Regions from separate parts of the Homo sapiens genome. Here all the other regions are linked to region 3. Evidence: promoter capture Hi-C in 16 types of primary human blood cells and fetal thymus (Javierre and others, 2016). All regions are on one chromosome and are shown on one strand. Each heading gives the region's core, a stretch centred on a gene start or on the middle of the fragment in contact. The rest is flanking DNA. Distances are from core to core; before and after follow the strand shown. Region 1 overlaps ZDHHC5 (zDHHC palmitoyltransferase 5). Region 2 has its middle 41 kb from the start of OR9Q1. Region 3 holds the start of OR5B21 (olfactory receptor family 5 subfamily B member 21). Region 4 has its middle 100 kb from the start of CTNND1. Region 5 overlaps TMX2 (thioredoxin related transmembrane protein 2).

The links. Contacts are between HindIII fragments. The CHiCAGO score rates a contact against its expected background, and 5 or more counts as called.
Region 1: a fragment that was not itself captured here is called in contact with the fragment with the promoter of OR5B21 in region 3 in 3 of 17 cell types (naive CD8 T cells, total B cells and naive CD4 T cells); the score reaches 5.3 in naive CD8 T cells.
Region 2: a contact is called between a fragment that was not itself captured here and the fragment with the promoter of OR5B21 in region 3, in 1 of 17 cell types (endothelial precursors). The highest score is 5.2, in endothelial precursors.
Region 4: a contact is called between a fragment that was not itself captured here and the fragment with the promoter of OR5B21 in region 3, in 2 of 17 cell types (endothelial precursors and megakaryocytes). The highest score is 8.1, in endothelial precursors.
Region 5: a fragment that was not itself captured here is called in contact with the fragment with the promoter of OR5B21 in region 3 in 3 of 17 cell types (naive CD8 T cells, endothelial precursors and megakaryocytes); the score reaches 8.1 in naive CD8 T cells.

The regions. Positions count from the first base shown.
Region 1 is chr11:57,698,664-57,701,363 of GRCh38, reverse strand. It overlaps ZDHHC5 (zDHHC palmitoyltransferase 5), which reads right to left. Exons shown (of 12, transcript NM_015457.3): 11 at 1,946-2,700; 12 at 182-1,498. The coding sequence ends at 1,333. Among named protein-coding and RNA genes, the nearest start is that of MED19, 12 kb to the left of the region's middle. The HindIII fragment of the contact is 3,103 bases long and covers 1-2,700 here.
Region 2 is chr11:57,981,263-57,983,962 of GRCh38, reverse strand. No RefSeq gene overlaps it. Among named protein-coding and RNA genes, the nearest start is that of OR9Q1, 41 kb to the left of the region's middle. The HindIII fragment of the contact is 1,482 bases long and covers 684-2,165 here.
Region 3 is chr11:58,506,663-58,509,362 of GRCh38, reverse strand. OR5B21 (olfactory receptor family 5 subfamily B member 21) reads left to right here and starts at 1,258. Exons shown (of 1, transcript NM_001005218.3): 1 at 1,258-2,556. The coding sequence starts at 1,258. The coding sequence ends at 2,187. The region is part of intron 2 of LOC105369313 (a long non-coding RNA gene); the gene reads left to right. The HindIII fragment of the contact is 6,996 bases long and covers 1-2,401 here.
Region 4 is chr11:57,861,215-57,863,914 of GRCh38, reverse strand. No RefSeq gene overlaps it. Among named protein-coding and RNA genes, the nearest start is that of CTNND1, 100 kb to the right of the region's middle. The HindIII fragment of the contact is 598 bases long and covers 988-1,585 here.
Region 5 is chr11:57,715,932-57,718,631 of GRCh38, reverse strand. The region is part of intron 1 of TMX2 (thioredoxin related transmembrane protein 2); the gene reads right to left. The region is part of intron 1 of TMX2-CTNND1 (TMX2-CTNND1 readthrough (NMD candidate)); the gene reads right to left. It also overlaps the pseudogene PPIAP42. Among named protein-coding and RNA genes, the nearest start is that of TMX2, 4.7 kb to the right of the region's middle. RefSeq lists an enhancer at 2,569-2,700. The HindIII fragment of the contact is 5,340 bases long and covers 1-2,700 here.

The DNA of each region.
Region 1 (2,700 bases), core at 112-2,611, 810 kb after region 3:
AAGCCACCGCACTGGGTCTCTTTTTTATTTTTTTAGTTGTTAAGTGGCTAATTTCATTATAGTCTTGCCTAAAGATGGGCTGGGACCAGAGAAGTTTATGAGGTTGTCACTGATAACTTCCCACCAGAGATCGTTCACCCTGTCTCAACCAGACAAAATAACACAAGTCAGGGGGCGCTGGTTAGATCAGGATTTCTTTTTATTCCTCGTTGGTTTAAAATGGCTAATCAGAATAAAAAATAAAAGGGCCTCTTTGTGGAGGCTGGGATCTCCCCTATTTAGAGGTTAGAACCCAGGTATCCCCTCTACCCAGCACCATAGTGAGGTGGGCTGAGGGGTAACCCCCAAGGGACAATCGGAGGGGCCTAGGCCTGCCACTCCTTCTCTCTATCCCCCGTTTTTGGCATGTGATGAAAAATATTGCTTTTTGGATTCTTCTCTCCTGGCCTTGGATTTTAAAATCAAGTTAACTGTGTAAGCTAGGGGAGGCTCCAAGGGGCCAGTAGGAGCACACTCTAATCCCTCTCCCCCAAGGAGGGGATTATCCAATATTGTTTGAGCTAGGCCAAGTTATTTTCCTGATCTCCCACCACCACCAGTGTCTTGAAGTTTTGACCCCTTTCCTAGGGAAACTAAATGCCAATGAGCCTAGAAAACTAATTCTCCTCTCCAAGTCCTTCCCTCTTGTGACCAAAATTCCAGACTCACCTCTCCCCAGGCTTCTTCCTAATCACACTTAGCACCAGCAGAGGATGCTATTTCCGTAGTTAGTAACTGGGACAAATGAGAGGGAACCACAGGAAAAAGACTGACGTCTCCCCTCTTTTCCTGCTGGTCTGAGGAATGGGAAGAGTAAGATCCCCCTCCGTATATGTATCCCTCCCTCATTTTCCCATCCCAGGATAGATATATAATTTCTTTGATATTTATAATATATATATATATATATTATATGTACACACACACCTGGTAACGCAGAAGAGGAAAAAAATAGAATCCGTAACAATAATAAAAAAAATTATTTCTGGTTTAAAAATGATCTGGTTCCCTCCAGGGCGAGCAATTGCACAAATGTCCACTGAGTCTGGTCCAGGGATCAAGGAAGGGAAGGTCTTAAAAGATAAAAGGGGGGGTTGCTACCCCAGTCTCAGGGCCCCAACTCTCCGACTCCCCAAGCCTACTGCATTTTAGAAAACACTCCTCATCCTCTTGGAATCGGTGGTTTAAAAAATGTCCATGCACGGGAGGGGAGCCCCTTGAGGGAAGGAAGGTGGCCACCTGGGGCCCTTTGGTGTAGGCGCAGAGGCGTTGGGGAGGGGAGGTGCCGAAGGCTCACACCGAAATCTCATAGGTGGTACCACCAACCCCTGACACCTTCTTGACTCCTCCCCTCGTGGGGCTACTGAGAGGTGGCTGGCCTGGGCCAGGGGAGGCTGAGCCTAAGCTCTTGGGCTGCCCGTTGGATTTGCTGTAGGTGGTCTTCAGCTGTACTTCATCTCTGGAAAGAAGAGACAAGACGTAGGTGTCAGGAAATGGGACAGAAAACATTGGAAAGGGAGACAGTTTCAAAGGTTCAGAGAAAAAAATGATGTTCTTTTCTATATCCATACTTTCTTACCCAAACATTCCCCTTTATTGCCCTGCTTAAAATAAGCCTGATTCCCAATCTCTCCTATGTACTACTACTCTCTAGTAACAGCTATCACATGTACTTACTCCCAAGCAAATACTTTTAGGAAGATAGCATTATGGAAAAAGTATTAATCTTCAGTCTCTTAACAGGAATTGCCCATGAAGGCAGGTAGAGTCAAAGTGAAAATAAAGAGCTACCAGGATACCCCTGGGTCCACCTACATTAGGATGTACAACAGAAGCCCTGATAGCTTTTGCAGAGCAGTATGCTAATTTGAAATTGGCTAAGGGTCAGGATAGTACTAATACTTACTTGGGTGTCAGTAATGGCTGCAAGGCCACTTCTTCTGTCTCAGAGACACCAGGTTGGGCTTTTTGGCTGCTGTAAGACATCGATCGGCCCAGGTATGGGGCTGTTGGGCCTGGTTCAGGGGACCCTACTCCCCGGCCCCTTAGCCCATCTGGCTTGCCAAAACGGGGGACAGCTGGGCGTCCCAGTGGAGTCTTGCCCAAAGGTGATCTCTTTGAATCATCTGAGGAGGAACTAGTACGAGGGGCATGGCCCGAGCCTGGTGTTGACTGAATGCCTGAGTCCCCCAAGCCTGGTTCTTCCTCACGGCCCGGGAGTGGGGGTGACTGGCGCAGCAACTTCTCTCGTTCCTGGAGAGAGGCCACAATGTGGCGCGACAGATTGTCGTAACGGACTGGTGAGGGCTCTCGGTGTGTTGGGCCAGTTGGCACCAAACGTGGGTGCCTCTCAGCTTCCCGTTGCTGGGCCAGCCTGGCTGACAGGAAGGGAGAGGTATAGCCTAAAGGTGGGTCTGGCTCAGGCCCTGCCTGCACTGACTCAAAATCAGGGCTGTCTGAAGGTGTGAGCAAGCTGTCATAAGATAGGCTTCCATTGCGTGTCTGGTTGGCCAGGCTCTTATAGGAGGTGGAGGTGGTGCCCTCTGAACGAATGGATTGCAACTGGCCCAGCTCAAAGCCTGTGCCCTGGGCTGACTTGAGGCTGGAGGAGCGTGAGCCACTGGATAGTGGATCGAAGTGAAAACTTTTGCCAAAGGTAGG
Region 2 (2,700 bases), core at 175-2,674, 530 kb after region 3:
CAGGTTCTGGGTACATTTGGAAAGTATAGGCAACAGGAGTTTTTGACTGGTGGGATGTGAGGTTCAAGGGAAAGAAGAGACGCGAAGACAATACCAAGGTTTAGACTGAGCCACTAGAGGGATGGAATAGCCCCCAGCTCATGTGGGAAAGGTTTGGGAAGAGCAGGTTTGCTGGGAGAAGATCAGGAGTTTGGTTTGGGATCCAACAAAAATTTCCTTTTAGACACATCCAAGCAGAAAGACCAAGTGTGAAATTGGATCCATGAGTCTGAAGTTCAAAGGAGAGAGGACTGAAGATACCATTTTGGAACTCATCAACTTATAGATCATATTTAAAGTAATGAGGCTGCAAGAGAGCGAGCCGGGAGTGAGCGTAGGTAGGGAAAAGAAGCTGTCCAAGAACTATTTCCTGAGCACTTCTACATTAAGAGGCTAGAGAAATTAGGAGCAACCCACAAAAGAGACCGAAGGAGCAGCCAACAGCAAGAAGAAAACCAGGAGAATGAGCTCAGTGAGTGCTAAGCAAAGAAAGTGTCTGGGGAATTCCAAATTGCCAACTGCATCAAATGCTGCCAATTCCTTAAGTAAGAGAAAAACTGAATTCACCATTAAATTTAGTAACACAGAGGCCATTAAAGATGTTAAAAAGAGCTGTTTTTAGTGGAGTCGTGGGAATGAAAGCTTGTTGGAGTGAATTCAAAAAGAAAGGGAGAAAAGAATTAGAAACAATGGGTGTGAACAACTATTTAGAGAAATGTGGCTGTAAAGTGATGCAGAAAAATAAAGCAATAGCTAAAGGAGAAAGTGGGATAAAAAGTAAATTTTTTTCAGCTAGGAGAAATAACCTAATGTTTGTGTGCTATTTGCATGTTTATTTATCTATCCTTAAACGTGTAGTGAGAGACTCTTGGTTCCCAGACCTTCTATTCCAGCAGAGAATGAAAGAATATGATAAGCTCATGACTGCTTCAAAGAAGACACCACGTTCCGCATGACTAGGCCCCAATGGTGCAGCTGTCTCCAAACCCTCACTATTAGTACTGCACCAAGAGGCCAACAGATTACAGATGAGATGGTATATAAGACCATCCCCTCATTACCATACTGCTGTAATTTAACTGTTTTTTTTATTATTATCAAAAGACTTCATTATGCAGTTTAAAGAGTTGAACAGAACCACGAGACTTGTAACAAGAAAAATCTTCCCTGGACCACTCCTCCCTCTGCCCGGGACTCGCACACCAAAGCAATCACTTTCAAATCTGTCGTGTATTTCTCTTGTTTACTGTCATATTTCTAGATCACATGCTTTTAGAATTTTTTTCATTTTGTTTTTCACTTCAAGATTTTAACTTTTTACTTCCTAAAATAGAAAACAGAGATTTAGCTCTTTTAACCTATCTATCATCTCTATATCCCTTTTCTATCATTCTCTCAGTAAAGTTATATCAAGATTTTTTCTTAAGTTACTGTTCAATGTTTGCATTATTGGCTATAAAAATGTAATTCACAGGTTTGTCATTTGGTATGTTATGATCACATATCCTTTCTTGTATGACTTTTTGTTTTTCCTGAATTAATAATTGCCTTAGTTTTTCATTTGCTTACTTTTCTATGTACCCATAATTAACGCTTTCTCAAACTATCCCCAGACTATTCCCAACCAGAACTAAAAACCCATCTCCATGCTAGTATATCAGTTAATCCATTAGTTCAATGTATTTCTCAGAGGCACACGTCCTGGGACCCTGCCCACTCCTGCTCCTCTCTGGACTGGACATTCTCTCAGCTTGATGTGTGGCTCCCTTCCTGAAACTACCCTCAGCATGGGAATTCCTTTCCTGTCTTCTGTCCTCTGTTTGTTGGATCAAAGATCTTCTTCCATGGTTTATTCCCTAATTTTGCCACTTCTTCTGTAGTGTCTTAAGACAGGATGCCCGAGAGGTACACTTTTATGACTTGGCATATCTGAACCATTCTTTATTTCACCATCACATTAATCTAATTGCTTGGCTATGTATAGAATTCAAAAGTTGTGACCACCTTCTCTCAGTTTTTGAGGTTATCATCTCGTTGTCTCTGGTTTCCCGTGCTGTCATTGAGAAGTCCAACATCATTCTGATACTCATCTTTTGTTTGTGATCTCCTTTTACTCTCTGGAAGCTTTACAGGATCTTCTTATTATACCCCGGAATCTGAAATTTCACAATCATGTGCCTTGAAATAATTCTGTTGTCATTTATTTACCCAGGTACCCAGTGAATGCTTGAATTCTGTCCAAATTTTCTGTCCTTCCTTTCTGGAATTCCCATTAGTTTGATGTTAAGATTCTGTGCTATATCTAATTTTCTTATGTTTTTTGTTATTATCTTTTTGTTATTATCTTTTTTGTTATTATCTTTCATCATTTTATTCTGTATCTTGAGGATATTTTCTCAATTTTATTTTGCAAATCTCCTATTGAATTCTTTAAAATTAATTCTTTAAAATGTCTTATTATACTATTAATGTTCCAAAGTATTTTCTGCTTTTTAATGTTTTTTTATAATACTCTTTTTTATTATGGATACAGTTGTTATTCATTCAATCAATATTTGGTGTGTTTGTTGTGGGATTTTTTGTTTTTCAGACAGGGTCTCACTCTGTCACCCCAGCTAGAGTACAGTGGCATGATCACAGGTCACTGCAGCCTCGGTCTCC
Region 3 (2,700 bases), core at 9-2,508:
CACCTCAGGTTGAGGAACAAAAATAGGAGAGAAAGAATGCTCTAAAATGAGGACAGAAACCTGTCTCCAGGCCTGACCATCTGCAAACTCACTGTTACTCCTGAATATTTTTCATATGACAAGTCTAAGCTAATATTTTGGCCCAAAGCACAAACCTGGTAGACAAGAGGATGATAGGATGTTTGTTGTGGGATTAAAGAGCATGAAAAATATTTCCATACTTTCCTATTGATGTTCTGTTTGATTCACCAAATATTTACATACATGTGTGAGGGGCCATGGTAAGGAGAGTGGACCAGAGGGGATGAAGATAGTTACTGTCCCAAGGGGCTTAGAGCTAGGTGAAGAGTGAGTGGTTGCCCAGCTAATTGTGCAATAATCAGCCAAGACTCAAGTGCTTTGAGGAGGGAGAGAAAGGAGGACTTAACTGGAATTAGGGTCTACAGCAAAGACTTCTGATAAGGGGTGAAAAAAGACATATGCATATACACAGATACACAAAGCCATTTGTATATATCAAATTTATAGTTTTATATTAAATATATATAAATACATACTCATATTTACATATACCATACTCCCTTTCAGTTGAACTACTGTTGAGGGATTAATTTATAAAGGCTTCAAAAGTTGTGGTTAAGATCTTTGGATTTAGTATCAAACAGACCTTGAGGGCACCACCTTGTCCTGCCAACACCTTGATTTTGGCCCAGTGAAACTGATTTGAGGCTTCTGGCCTCCAGAATTTTGAGAGAATAAACTTGTGTTGTTTTAAGGAAAAATAAATTTAGAAAATCTTTAGTGAGGCTATATTATTGGAAGTAGAATGTGGAAGACAATAAGTGATGGATGTTTTTATTTTTAATAATTAAATACATACAATCTTATATCCACATCATAATTTGTATTTATATGATGTAAATGTGTTAAAGAATTCAAGATGAATGTATGAACTTTAGATTCAGAAATATAAAGGGGTGAACTTTGATTCTGACCCCTAGATAGGCTATCTTGCTCAATATTCAGCTCCCTGAGCCTTAACTTCCTTATCTGTAAGATGGGCATAATAGCACCTATCTCATATGAATTAAAAGCTATAATATAACAGAGGGTTCTAGGATGAGTGTTACACACAGTACATTCTCTCTATACATTAGTTTTCTCCTTTTTTATCATTCCATCCTCCCTTCTCATACTTTCATTGGAATTTTGTTGACGCCTCTTCTTTAATCACCAGGCTAATTCAAGCTGGCCACAATGGAGAATAGCACAGAAGTGACAGAGTTTATCCTCTTGGGATTAACAGATGACCCCAATCTTCAGATACCCCTCCTCCTGGCATTTTTATTCATCTACCTCATCACCCTGCTTGGGAATGGGGGAATGATGGTGATCATCCACTCAGACTCCCATCTCCACACTCCAATGTACTTTTTCCTCAGTAACCTCTCCCTTGTAGACTTGGGTTACTCATCAGCTGTAGCCCCCAAAACGGTGGCTGCATTGCGGTCAGGGGACAAGGCCATCTCCTACGATGGATGTGCAGCTCAGTTCTTCTTCTTTGTGGGGTTTGCCACTGTTGAGTGCTACCTCCTGGCCTCCATGGCCTATGATCGCCATGCAGCGGTATGTAGGCCTCTTCATTACACCACCACCATGACAGCAGGTGTGTGTGCCCTCCTTGCTACTGGTTCCTATGTCTCTGGCTTCCTCAATGCCTCTATCCATGCAGCAGGCACCTTCAGACTCTCCTTCTGTGGTTCTAATGAGATTAATCATTTCTTCTGTGACATTCCCCCACTCCTGGCTCTCTCATGCTCTGACACACGCATCAGCAAGTTGGTGGTCTTTGTGGCAGGCTTCAACGTCTTTTTCACCCTCCTGGTCATCCTTATTTCTTACTTCTTCATATGCATCACCATTCAGAGGATGCATTCTGCTGAAGGGCAGAAGAAAGTCTTCTCCACCTGTGCTTCCCATCTCACTGCTTTGTCCATCTTCTATGGCACAATCATCTTCATGTACTTACAGCCCAACTCCAGCCAGTCCGTGGACACAGACAAAATAGCCTCTGTGTTTTACACAGTGGTGATTCCCATGCTGAATCCCTTGATATACAGCCTTAGGAACAAAGAAGTGAAAAGTGCTCTCTGGAAAATACTCAACAAACTTTACCCCCAATATTAAATGTGAATGGGAAGTAGGCAAGCAATTAAGGGATAAACTTTCTCTCACACCTAAATGCCATCATGACTTTTAACGTTTGACTGGTTTCAGTTCTTTCTTCCCCAAGAACAGCGGTTACTTCTGCTATTAGAAGATGTAAAAAGCAGCACGTTGAAAGTCTTACTTAGAAAGATAATCTTATATTTAGTGAACAACAACATGGGACAGTTAAGCTTTTCTTGCTTTAGTTTCTTGACGTGGTTTAAAGCAGAAGATTGAAGCATACAAATGAATGTACCAAATTTTCCTCATCCTGTTTTTAATTGTAAGAATTTTTCATTCACTATTAAACTTGGTGTAAAGATTTCACCTTCATTTTTATCAACTGAACACACAGTATCTTTTTTATTCTTTTGTTCTGCGAGTTTGAAAGTTGGACTTTCTGAGGTAGACAAAGGATGTTTCAATATTTTAAATGATATTTGAGAGAAAGTTGTAATTTAAAGGACAAGGCACTAGATCGAGTCAGGTAGC
Region 4 (2,700 bases), core at 37-2,536, 650 kb after region 3:
AAAAAAAAAAAAGAAGACCACACAGCAATTAAACTTCACCATTTTACCTCTTAGCATGCATGCATGAGCCCACTCACCCAACTCCTGACATCTTATGGGGAAGCTGCTGATCATCAGCTTCAGGTGTTTTTTGGGGGGGTAGGGGTTTAGGTTGTTTTGTTTTGTTTTGTTTTGAGATGGAGTCTCACTCTGTCACCCAGGCTGGAGTGCAGTGGCACAATCTCGACTCACTGCAACCTCCACCTCTTGGATTCAAGCGATTCTCTTGCCTCAGCCTCCTGAGTAGCTGGGATTACAAGTGCACACCACCACACCTAGCTAATTTTTGTATTTTTAGTAGAGAAGGTGTTTCGCCATGTTGGCCAGGCTGGTCTCAGACTCCTGACCTCAAATGATCAACCCACCTCGGCCTCCCAAAATGTTGGGACTATAGGTGTGAACCACGGTGCCGGGCCCACGTGTTTTCTATTGGAAGACTGTCTCTCCCTGGCACTGGCTGCAACCAGTTATTACTTTAGAGAGACAGTTTAACAACCCCCTGACCATCACTTGATGCTTGCCTGACATTCCTGGAGGGGGGACCTGTCTTGCCCTGATCATGTCTGCCTAACTACCTACCTACCTACTACCTACATTCTAAAAATGAACAATTTAAAAATCCCTTCCAGGAAGCTGAGGGTGAAAATTTCTCATTTTTGTCTTCTTTCATTCAGCAAATCTTTACTAAATTCCTCCTATGCTCCACCTACTTTTAACTTATAAACTAAATTTTTAGTACATTCAGTTGAAGTCAGGACTAGAATCTTATGGTAAAGAGATTTAGTAAAAATTAATCTAATTCATTCATCTCGAAAATATTTATGTGGCAATTAGGTGTAACACAATGTGGTAGGCCCTAGCTTGACAGTCAGAACACCTATTAGGCAGATTGCTTATGCCATAGTAACAAACAAACCCCAAATGTCAGTGACTTCATACCACAAAGCTTTCCACCTATGCTAAATTTGAGACACATCAGGTGACTCTCAGGGAAATTTATCCATCCAGTGTCTCCACATCTGAGCCCCTCTCATCTTGCAATCCTGCCATCTCACCCTTTGACCTCCAAGATCTTAATGGTGGGGGAAATGGTCAAGGTCACACAGCATTTTTAAGCACCTGGCCTGAGGTTGGCTCACATCACTTTGACCCGTGTATCATTGGCCTGAAACCAGTCTTACAGCTAATATATGGCAAAGAAGGCTGGGAAATGCAGTCCTTTTTTCACCCAGAGGAGGAAAAAGAAATGAGATTTAGTAAATACATAGCTTTGTGTGTCACTGGCCAACTGGACATTTGATTAGACCATCATCTGTAAGAAGTAGTAAAACATCACTGGAATAAATCAGAAATAAGGTACTGGTTAACTCATGTTTCTACATAATTGAGGTAGACTGTTTCTTTGGGTGGACATTTTAAAACACTCCTTGCCTGGACTGACCTATCTCTGTTCAGCATTTTTTGAATCACATGCCCAAGTTGTATGGTGCCACTACAGGCAGTAAAACTAATGATGAGACCAGTCATTTGATGGCTGCCTGAAGCTTCACGTCACAGTTACCTCCTTGAATTATAAAACTAAATAATGTACAACATAGTGGTATCTACTAAGAGTGATTTTATCTAAGTTTAACCCCATAATCTATCACCCAAGAAGTGGTACACACACAAACACATACTCTCATGAAGAAAGAAGAAACTACAAAACAAAAACGCATTGGAAAGCATGAAAGTCAGATAAAAATACAAAAGTTGAATGTGCATATCATGTGGCTCAACTGTACAATTTTAGCTAGTAGACTATAAGTTGCTATCCACCTCAACTATATAAATATTGAATAAATACTTACAGGCTTTCAATCTGAGAGTGATAAATTATTATCCTGCCCCATCCACTGTTATATCTTCTATGTCTAGAATAATACCTGGCACATGGCAGGCACTCAATAAACATCTGTTCAATAAATGAGTGAATGGGTATCCACATGATTGTTTTCCTTGGACTAGCAGCACTGTCATCACCTGGGAACTTTCAGATGTAGAATCTGGGGCCCCACTCCTGACCTGCTGAATAAGAATCTGCATTTTGGCTGGGCGCAGTGGCTCACGCCTGTTATCCCAGCACTTTGGGAGGCCGTGGTGGGCGGATCACCAGAGGTCAGGAGTTCGAGACCAGCCTGTCCAACATGATGAAAGCCCGTCTCTACTAAAAATACAAAAAAAAAAAAAAATTATCCAGGCATGGTGGCAGGTGCCTGTAATCTCAGCTACTTGGAAGTCTGAGGAAGGAGAATAGCTTGAACCCGGGAGGCGGAGGTTGCAGTGAGCCAAGATCTCACCACTGCACTCCAGTCTGGGCGACAGAGTGAGACTCTGCCTCAAAAAAAAAAAAAAAGAATTTGCATTTTAACATGATCCCCATATAATTCGCATGCACGTGAAAGTTTGAGAAGCACTGAAACATATGACTCAATCTAGCCCTAAATTTGTGAACAAAGTACGCAATTCTTCTCCTTCCAGAGCTCACAGTTTAGGCCGGGAGAGTGTTCTTAGCAGAGGGAAAAGCATAGCAAAGACCAAGAAGTGAGAAAAGAACAATGTGTCCTCTTCCCTGATCCTCTTTCACCATTGCATGTGATCTACATTAAAATGAGCATTAGG
Region 5 (2,700 bases), core at 201-2,700, 790 kb after region 3:
AATGAATGGAGGAAAACAATGATATAGATAAAACTAAACAGATATAAAAAGTTGGGCAAAGAGGCTTTGCTGCCACCACCAGGAGCCCTGTACTATCAGCCATGGTCAACCCCGTGTTCTTTGACATCACCGTGGATGGTGAGCCCCTGGGCCGCATCTCCTTCGAGCTGTTTGCAGACAAGGTTCCAAAGACAACAGAAAACTTTCGTGCTCTGAGCACTGGACAAAAAGGATTTGGTTGTAAGAGTTCCTGCTTTCACAGAATTATTCCAGGGTTTATGTATCAGGTGGTGACTTCACACGCCATAATGGCACTGGTGGCAAGTCCATCTATGGGGAGAAATTTGATGATGAGAACTTCATCCTAAAGCATACAGGTCCTGGCACCTTGTCCATGGCAATTGCTGGACCCAACACAAAAGGTTCCCAGCTTTTCATCTACACTGCCAAGAGTGAGTGGTTGGATGGCAAGCATGTGGTCTTTGGCAAGGTGAAAGAAGGCATGAATATTGCAGAGGCCATGGAGCGCTTTGGGTCCAGGAATGGCAAGACCAGCAAGAAGATCACCATTGCTGACTGTGGATAAGTCTAGTAAGTTTGACTTGTTTTGTCTTCACCACCAGACCATTCCTTCTGTGCTCTCCTCTCAGGAGAGCACCCCTCTACCCCATTTGCTCGCAGTATCCTAGAATCTTTGTGCTCTCACTGCAGTTCCCTTTGGGTTCCGTGTTTTCCTTGTTCCCTTACATGCCTAGCTGGATTGCAGTTAAGTTTATGATTATGAAATAAAAACTAAATAACAACAACAATAAAAAGCTAGGGAAAGAAAATAAAGAATGAAAACAAATTCTGGCCTCTGCCTCTGCCTCTGCCTCTCCCTCTCCCCTCTCCCCTCTCCCCTCTCCCCTCTCCCTCTCGGTCTCCCTCTCCCTCTCTTTCCACGGTCTCCCTCTGATGCCGAGCCGAAGCTGGACTGTACTGCTGCCATCTCGGCTCACTGCAACCTCCCTGCCTGATTCTCCTGCCTCAGCCCACCGAGTGCCTGCGATTGCAGGCAAGCGCCACCACGCCTGACTGGTTTTCGTACTTTTTTGGTGGAGACGGGGTTTCGCTGTGTTGGCCGGGCTGGTCTCCAGCTCCTAACCGCGAGTGATCCGCCAGCCTTGGCCTCCCGAGGTGCCGGGATTGCAGACGGAGTCTGGTTCACTCAGTGCTCAATGGTGCCCAGGCTGGAGTGCAGTGGCGTGATCTCAGCTCGCTACAACCTCCATCTCCCAGCCGCCTGCCTTGGCCTCCCAAAGTGCCGAGATTGCAGCCTCTGCCCGGCCGCCACCCTGTCTGGGAAGTGAGGAGCGTCTCTGCCTGGCCGCCCATCGTCTGGGACGTGAAGAGCCCCTCTGCCTGGCTGCCCAGTCTGGAAAGTGAGGAGCGTCTCTGCCCGGCCGCCATCCCATCTAGGAAGTGAGGAGCGCCTCTTCCCAGCAGCCATCCCATCTGGGAAGTGAGGAGCGTCTCTGCCCGGCCGCCCATCGTCTGAGATGTGGGGAGCGCCTCTGCCCCGCCGCCCCGTCCGGGATGTGAGGAGCGCCTCTGCCCGGCCGCGACCCCGTCTGGGAGGTGAGGAGTGTCTCTGCCCAGCCGCCCCGTCTGAGAAGTGAGGAGACCCTCCGCCCAGCATCCGCCCCATCTGAGAAGTGAGGAGCCCCTCTGCCCGGCACCAACCCCGTCTGGGAAATGAGGAGCGTCTCCGCCCGGCAGCCGCCCCGTCCAGGAGGGAGGTGGGGGGGGTCAGCCCCCCGCCCGGCCAGCCGCCCCGTCCGGGAGGTGAGGGGCGCCTCTGCCCAGCCGCCCCTACTGGGAAGTGAGGAGCCCCTCTGCCTGGCCAGCCACCCCGTCCGGGAGGGAGGTGGGGGAGTCAGCCCCCCACCCGGCCTGCCGCCCCGTCCGGGAGGGAGGTGGGGGGGTCAGCCCCCCGCTCGGCCAGCCGCCCCGTCCGGGAGGGAGGTGGGGGGGTCAGCCCCCCACCCGGCCAGCCGCCCCGTCCGGGAGGGAGGTGGGGTCAGCCCCCCGCCCGGCCAGCCGCCCCGTCCGGGAGGTGAGGGGCGCCTCTGCCCGGCCGCCCCTACTGGGAAGTGAGGAGCCCCTCAGCCCGGCCAGCCGCCCCGTCCGGGAGGGAGGTGGGGGGGTCAGCCCCCCGCCCGGCCAGCCGCCCCGTCCGGGAGGGAGGTGGGGGGGTCAGCCCCTCGCCCGGCCAGCCGCCCCGTCCGGGAGGGAGGTGTGGGGGTCAGCCCCCCGCCCGGCCAGCCGCCCCGTCCGGGAGGGAGGTGGGGGGGTCAGCCCCACATCCGGGAGGGAGGTGGGGGGGGGTCAGCCCCCCGCCCGGCCATCCGCCCCGTCCAGGAGGGAGGTGGGAGGGTCAGCCCCCCGCCCGGCCAGCCGCCCGGTCCGGGAGGTGAGGGGCGCCTCTGCCCGGCCACCCCTACTAGGAAGTGAGGAGCCCCTCTGCCCAGCCACCACCCCGTCTGGGAGGTGTACCCAACAGCTCATTGAGAACGGGCCGGGATGACAATGGCGGTTTTGTGGAATAGAAAGGGGGGAAAGGTGGGGAAAAGATTGAAAAATCGGATGGTTGCCGTGTCTGTGTAGAAAGAAGTAGACACGGGAAACTTTTCATTTTGTTCTGTACTAAGATAAATTCTT